Regions from separate parts of the Homo sapiens genome. Here region 1 is linked to region 2. Evidence: promoter capture Hi-C in human tissues and cell types (Jung and others, 2019). All regions are on one chromosome and are shown on one strand. The core of a region is centred on a gene start or on the middle of the fragment in contact, and the rest is flanking DNA. Distances in the headings are between cores, read along the strand shown.

Region 1 (3,784 bases), core at 301-2,800, 270 kb before region 2:
CTCATAACTTACTATTTCAATTGAAGACCAAGTCCGATTCTTGCCTCTTCTTTTAGTAACATTTATTTTATTTAGTAAATAAATAATGATCATTGTAACAGAATATTGCCCTTCGTCTTATGTTTTTAAGTTTAAAAATATTTTTCAAAAATGGTATTGTTTAATAATCTGTCTCCTAAACTCAGAGGATGCAATATTCTACCACTGTTGTCACGTTCCCTTTTGAGCTTGGGGTTGTGTGCCCTTTGGCAGTGTTCGGCTCCCGCACTGCTCTTGAAGTTTAGAAATGTGAATTCCAGAAGAGTAGCTCTCACTGTGCCTCTTGGACAATGACGTGCTCCCATCTCTCCCAGCCCTAGCTACTCTCTGTCTCTTACAACTGATGTTCAGAGGAGTCTGGTATAATTGCCACTTGCCTAAGAATAGGATGGGAATCACTTTCTAAGCTTAGGTTGTAGCGCTAACCTGGATACTCCTGGGAGATTGAAGTGTGGCCAACTATAATGCATTTGTCTTAATTTACTTTGAAAAATTTGTACAGTTCCTAATAATCCTGTCCTCTTACCCTCCCAGAATTGGCAATAGTTTGTTGATTGGCCAACTGGAACTTTGTTCTTCTTTGGAGTTGGAATTATCTCTTTCTAGGGTAGGATATTTGCTATGCATGCTGCCTGTCTGGAAATCATGTCACACCTTGGGCACCCAAAGGTTAGAGGAAAGAAATATAATATCCAAGATGCCATGTTTACTGTAAAGAAATAAGTCATTTAAATATTTCTTTGCTGGTCTGTAGGAATGCATTCATAATTCCAGAAAAGTTTTGTCTTGATGGCTGGGCTTCATTTTTCTTTAGCAATATCTGACTGGAAAAAGTTCTCATGACTTTAGTATGTCATCATTAGTTGCAATGTAATTTCAACATGGCTATCATTCCTCCACTTTGAAAGAAACTCATAGGGAAATAACTATTGAAAAGAAATGGGTTTGATTAACTTCCCTTCAAATTTAGAACCCATTTGCACTGGCAGTTTTCACAGCAATCTATCTGATTTATTTATATGATCATAGAATATGAATTTTATTTCCAATTTAAAATTTTAGAATAGTCCTAACACTCAAAGTGAAGTAGATTATGTCTCTGAGGGCATATAAATTTAATTCAGCCAGATTCTCACCCCGCTTCTCTATGGCATTTTGTTCCTCAAGGCGGAGAGAGTTGTTTGAAATTAACAGAGGCTGGACTTCTAGAACTCTCTTTGCAGGAAGGAGATTAAAAATGGAATAAATCCCATGTAGAAAGCCCGACAGTTGACAGAGACAAGACCTTGAGGCTGCATTTCCTTCCCACCTCTTTAAATTCTACTTACCATTAGAATGATCAAAAGGCAAATGTTTCTGAAGAAGAGCCAATCCATTCCTTTGGGTTTCTCTTGCACGCAAATCCTGTGAGATTCAATTTGAGCCCTCGTCTTCTCAGTTCCGAATTCTGCTCTACAGAAAGATATGCTTTGAGACACCCTTTTAGGAGGGCATGGGTGATAACTGTGGTGATCTCTGGGCAGAGAGATGAAGATATTCTATAATGACTGTTTCCCCACCCCAAACTCCCAGGCTGGTCTGGAAGACTGGCATTGTTTGGGCTCTGGGTAAGAATTTAGACACACCTTGATTCTTATTGCAATGAAACCCTTTGTTGGACACCAAAGAAAAACCTTACAGAGCGAGGACAAGATTTACAGGGAAGATAGCCAGTGAATAATAAATTACTCACAACATAAAAAATAATTAAAATGCTAGGGCCTATCATCATGCTGAATAAAATTAGAAGGCTTCTTCTTACTGCCAACATTGTAAAAGCAAAATTACATATACTGACAACACATACACACACATGTCCACTGCAGAACCCACTTCAAGGAATGATACTTTTAGCAGAGGCCATTGTTGAAAGTCATCAGGACTCAAGTATGGTATAGGAAGAAAGATAGAATAATGACGCTCATTTCAATTCAGTTGAGTCCTGCTTCTCTCTTTAAAATGTCTTGTGGTTGAACCGCACTCTCAATTTTAAAGATTTTCTGAAATAACAAAGTTAAGATGAAGGAACTCTGATTTAACTAGTACCAGTATGTTTGTTTCCATACTTTGGCATTTTCTTTCTTGATTATTCAGTCAAACCTCTACAATATGATATTTACAAAATCATTTTAAAGTAACTACAATACAACATTCTCACTTCTCATAGTATTACCACTGATAAAAAGTACATAATGTGGGTGAGGAACACATTTTACACCACCACAAATATTTATTAAGGAGAAACTGAAGTTGGAAACGTGAGAATTTAATGAAAAAAAGCCCAGAGTGGGATCTGGATATTTTTGAATATTATTTCCCTTTTTCGTGTCTCCCTTTTCCTTTGTTAGTATGGGTTTGAAACAGGGTATAGAGTGTCCTGATGCAAACATTGCAGGCTGGCAGCAACATCAATAAACTTAAAAGAAAATGCAGTTAACTGTTCTCTGATTGATAGATAATACATGTTGGTTGGAGAATTTCAAAGGGAGACTGCCTCCTGTCTTCACTATCCCATCACTGTAATTCAGAAACAAGGTTGACCCTGGTAATAGAATGTATTCTAAGTATTGCTTAGTTTCTTGAGAAAAGTAGTTTTAGTATTTTTGGAAGCCAGATAAAGTAATTTACTTTTGCATTATTTCATGTCATGTTGAATTAGATAATTTAATTTGCCTAAGAGAATTAATGAAACAACTCCAGGTCTTTAAGTGACATTGCTTTTTACAAGGGAAAAACAACATTCTTCTCTATTGTTGTGTTTGAAGGAGATATTTCACAAAGGTCTCTATCTTTTGTTTACACTATAGATGATTTCTTCTACATATAAGATTTTTCTTATATTTTCTTCTAAATATAAGATTTTCTATCTACTTGAATGCTATTTATAGGATGAGTTTTAAAGAAAAGAAACAGGAAGCAATAGAAATAGGTACTAGATCATTTATGTGGGTACCTCTAGCTTTCTCCATTTGAAACTCCTGATTTCAATGGTATCCAGAATTTGAATCCAGATTATAATTATGAACATATTTAAAAGATTCTTCAGTAACTAAGGAGGAACTACCTGAAGCCCCATCATTTCATTTCTGTTTACTCCTTGGAGATTTGTGGGAATGATCTTTTGCTTTAAAGTTTTTTTTGGAGACAGAGTCTTGCTCTGCTTCTCAGGCTGGAGTGCAGTAGTGGTCTGAGTGCAGCTCACGGCAACCTCTGCCTCCTGAGTTCAAGTGATCCTCCCACCTCAGCCTCTCAAGTACTTGGGTTTACAGGTGCATGTCACCACACTTGGTTAATTTTAAAAATATTTTGTAGAGACAAGGTCCTGCTATATTGTCCAGGCTGGTCTCAAACTCGTGGGCTTAAGTGATCCTCCTGCCTTGGTCTCCTAAAGTACTGAGATTACAGGTGTGAGCTACTGTTTCCCACAGGGGATGGATGATTTTACAGTGGAATTCCCAAAGACAAAACTTGGTTATGGTTCTGAGCTTGTGTAGATAAAGAGTAGCTACTTCCGTTTCTCTTGAAGAGTATCAGTCATTGTAGAAACAGAGCATAAAACATTAATGCTTAAAGATACCACAGAGATCATATAATCCAATCTCTCCTATCTTGCCTCTCTCCTACCCATGTGATAGTGATAGTCTAGGGAGGCTGTATGGTTTATTAGGGTCAAAGATAGGCAAGAGTTCCATCTCCTCATTCATAG
Region 2 (3,828 bases), core at 507-3,006:
TATTTTTATTGGGAAACTAGTTCATGCAGCAGAATCATATTCATAAGCAAAAGTCATTCTTTTAAAAAAAGATCACATCTACTCACATTCCATTTTTTTTTTAAATATATGCCCTTTGTTTCAAACCTATGTTTTAGAGGGATCTATTTCAGTGACCATATAGCCTAACCTAAATACATTAAATAAATTGGGTACTTGCTCAGAGAAAGTACTTTATATTCCATTCTTTTGTTGAAAGTTTTTTTTGGAATAAAACAAACAAATCACCATTTTAATAGCCTCTATCAATTAATGTGAAAGAGGAAAATAAATATCTAAGATGAATTCTAGTCAAATTGCTCTTCCGCCCTTTCCTGGAATGAGGAAAAACATGAGCTGCCCTTAAGGCATCAGAGGGTAAAGAGTAGGCAAGAGTTTGGAAATGTCCTATAGTCAAAGCCTGTGATGATAGTCTGAGTAGATCTCCAGAACCTGAAACGCTTATAGCTTTCTTTTTGTCCTCTGAAAAGCTTCATGCTAGAGACCATGATGTCATCTTTAATAGGATGAGGTGTGCTTATGGTATCATTGATGGAAAACTATGAGTGTTAAAAAATATGGAAACGGAAGGATGTCAATTATAGTCTCATGCTGATGACTCAGGCTTATTTTACTAGCAAAGGGTCAATGATAATTTTATGGATATGGAGACAGAACAGCTCATTAGTGGCATTCGTTAATAAAATAGGGCATGAGCATAGCACAGACACAGAGAATGTAAGGCATGCGCTGTTTGACATTAATTTTTAATTTAAATATACACTCAGTATTGCAGTAATTCTGGCTCGGCATACAATGGTGTTAAGATGGTGAACATTTTCAAGAATCGAAATGGTGTGAGTGTCAGGGTTGGCTTTTCACATAGGATTCTCAGGACATCCCTGAGGAAACTTAAACCAAATAAAAGGGAGCAGACAAGTTTCTCTTTTGTGGTCAGGCTTACCTGGTTTAAGTCAGTAATTGAAAAGAGGTGCAGGAGGATGAGTCAGATGCCTTGTCATTGCTTTCTGAAGAGCTAAAAGAAACAGCATTTATATCTTAATCTTCCAGATTGTGTGCTGCAATAATTCATTTAGTTTAAGTGCACTTCAAATAAAAATGTAAATTATCCCATTCTTATTCATTTCTCACCATGAACTCTGGTTTTGATGGTAGTAAAGAAGGTGAGAACTCTCCACTGGATGTTCAGGAGTCCGGTATAGGAAATAAGTTATAACTCTATTTGTGACCAGGGATGTTCTTGGAGAAAATCAGTAACCACATGTAGCCCACGACTAGGACCTCAATGGATGCATTTCTTATAGTAACTCACCCTCGATTTTATTATTTTGCAGTCGCCTTGATTCCCTAACTTTACGTACGTATGTATGTATATATGTATTTTTGTCTCTAAATTATGGCGATTGTCTTGTATCATTGTCATGCCAGTAAATTCCTAAAAACACAAGACCCCAAAGAATGGTGCCTCAGATGACTATGATGTCTGAACTGCTTGTGGGTGTGTGTAGGAAATTCACTCCAGTAGAGTGTGTAACAGTCTCCCTGGAGTCAACTTTCTGTCAGGTGGGCCTCAGGCAGCTGTGACCTAAAACCCAGCCTCTGCGGCTCAGACCTCGCTCTGTAATTGACCCCAGGGCAGGGACCACGGCCGTCGCCGAGGGCAGCGGGCAGGGCGGAGCCGGGGCCGACCGCGCACTCAGGAGTGAGTCTTTGTGCAGTCAGGGCTTCTGCTGGGCAGGGCCGGCTGTTAATCTCGCCTGGCGGAGCGGACACCGGGGCGTGGTGGGGGAGATGGGCCTTATAGGTGGCGTCCGCTGGTGAGAAACACCTTGCGCAGGTAAAAGGGTGGCGGCGAGAGGGAGTTCCCACCCGTGGCTTTCTTAGAGAAATGAAGTCTTAAGTCTTAAATAGACAACAAGGAGGGGCCGATCGGTGTCTTTTGGACGCGTCTGGAGCCCCTCCCTCCGCCAAAGGAAAAGCCCCTTGGATGAGAGGCAGGCGCTTCAGAGAAGCTAAGAAAAGCACCTCTCCGCGCGCCCCACCTCCTCCGCCTCGCGCTCCTCCTGAGCAGCGGGCCCAGACTGCGCTCCGGCCGCGGCCCTCGCCCCGCGGAGCCCTCCTACCCCGGCCCGACGCTCGGCCCGCGACCTGCCCCGAGCCCTCTCCATGGAGGCAGCCCGCCCCTCCGGCTCCTGGAACGGAGCCCTCTGCCGGCTGCTCCTGCTGACCCTCGCGGTGAGTGTAGCCGCGGCCACCGCTCCGGGGAAGGGGGCGATCGCCTAGGGTGCAGAGGAAAACTAGGGGAACGGGGATAGGTGGGGGTGGCGGGAAAAGCTGGGGTGAAGGGGCCTCTGGGTGGCTAGAAAATGGAGTTGGCGGGGGTGGGGGAGGGCAGATAGGAAGAGGATCGCGACCTGAGAGTTGGGATCCCCAAGGGAAGGGAAGGTGTCTCCGGTAGATGTAATCAGCGCACTCAAGGAGAGGCGGGAGCGGGCCGCTTTCGCCCAGCCAAAATCGTGGCCCCTGGGTACGCGCCGGGGAGCAGGGTGCGCCGGGGCGGGAGTGCGCCGGGGTCGGAGTGCGCCGGGGCGGGAGTGCGCCGGGGCGGGAGTGCGCCGGGGCCGTCCAGCTGGCCTCTGGCACCTTCCCCGGGAACGTGCGGCTCCCTGTGCCTCGGGAACGTGCGGCTCCCTGTGCCTCGGGAACGTGCGGCTCCCTGTGCCTCAGCGCCTGCCCAGGCCACGGAAAGGGGAACCGCTGGGCGGCCGGGACGGAGAGCGAGTGTCCTTGGGTGAAAAAGGGAACTGCTCGCCTTTCTGGGAATTGTTTACTCTGAGAGAAGGGCGGGGGGAAGTGGCGGGTGGGGGAGGGGATCTTGACCCTTTGCTCCTGAGGACTGTCGACCGGCGAGCCCTAGGTGAGCATTTGTACAGTTTCAGTGGTTTCTTAACGTGCGAGGCTTCAGTTCCCTAAATCTTCGGAGGAAGGAAGGGTCTTTCTGATTTCTTGTCCCCAGAGGCGACTCGATTTTTCTGCTCACCACCCGCCCCCCGCGCCACCGCCCCTTGCCCCAGGTTCTTTCTTTCTTTAAAGAGCACTACAGCAATGACCCTACCCCTTCCCAGAGCTGGGAGCCTAAGTGGTTGGCCTTATTTGGGGCGGGACAGCCCCTTTCCCAGGCTTGACCGATGGGATCTCGTTGGGGAGCCTGAAGACGCAAAAAGCCAATGCCGGGAGCAGCGTCTGGGGAATTGGGGATATAAAAAGTCCGATTGGACTTTTCCTGGCTCCCTGGAAGAGGAAAAAAATCGACAGGTGTGGAAAAGTGCTCCTTGTCTTAAGCAGAAGGCGTTGGGCGCCAATCAATCTTGAAGGACAAAGGGAGGAACCCGGAAGGCTAATTCCTTCTGGGAGAAGTGAACTGGGGGCTGAAATATTCGTATAATTTCCCCTTCTCTTCCGCTCTCACTTCGCAGTAGAGTTCCACATTTTACAATCATGAATTGGTAATTGTTACTGTTATTAGAATGTCTTTCTCGAGGAGCTCAATGGACTTCAAACCCTTAACTGAATTCTCAGGGCATATTAATAACATAGAAAGGGCCAAGTACACAGCAGTTAACATTTTACAGATGAGGAAACCAAGAATGGAATAAATAACGGTCAGAACATATGTTGATGAGTAAGAAATAAATTTTCATTAGACTCCTAATAAAATTGCAATTTCTTTTAAAACCACCGGCCATTCTTTAAAGGAAAAGGCATGCACAGACGCTGGCAATGCGTGGC

What was found. Contacts are between HindIII fragments. The study calls those that stand out against the background at their distance.
Region 1: a contact is called between the fragment with the promoter of DSG4 here and the fragment with the promoter of DSC2 in region 2, in 1 of the 25 tissues and cell types used here (heart left ventricle).

What each region holds. Positions count from the first base shown.
Region 1 is chr18:31,374,543-31,378,326 of GRCh38, reverse strand. DSG4 (desmoglein 4) reads right to left here and starts at 1,550. Exons shown (of 16, transcript NM_177986.5): 1 at 1,368-1,550. The coding sequence starts at 1,415. All of the region lies in intron 1 of DSG1-AS1 (DSG1 antisense RNA 1), which reads left to right. The HindIII fragment of the contact is 6,705 bases long and covers 1-3,784 here.
Region 2 is chr18:31,100,349-31,104,176 of GRCh38, reverse strand. DSC2 (desmocollin 2) reads left to right here and starts at 1,756. Exons shown (of 16, transcript NM_024422.6): 1 at 1,756-2,274. The coding sequence starts at 2,206. DSCAS (DSC1/DSC2 antisense RNA) reads right to left here and starts at 2,589. Exons shown (of 4, transcript NR_110785.1): 1 at 2,454-2,589; 2 at 983-1,054. The HindIII fragment of the contact is 11,144 bases long and covers 151-3,828 here.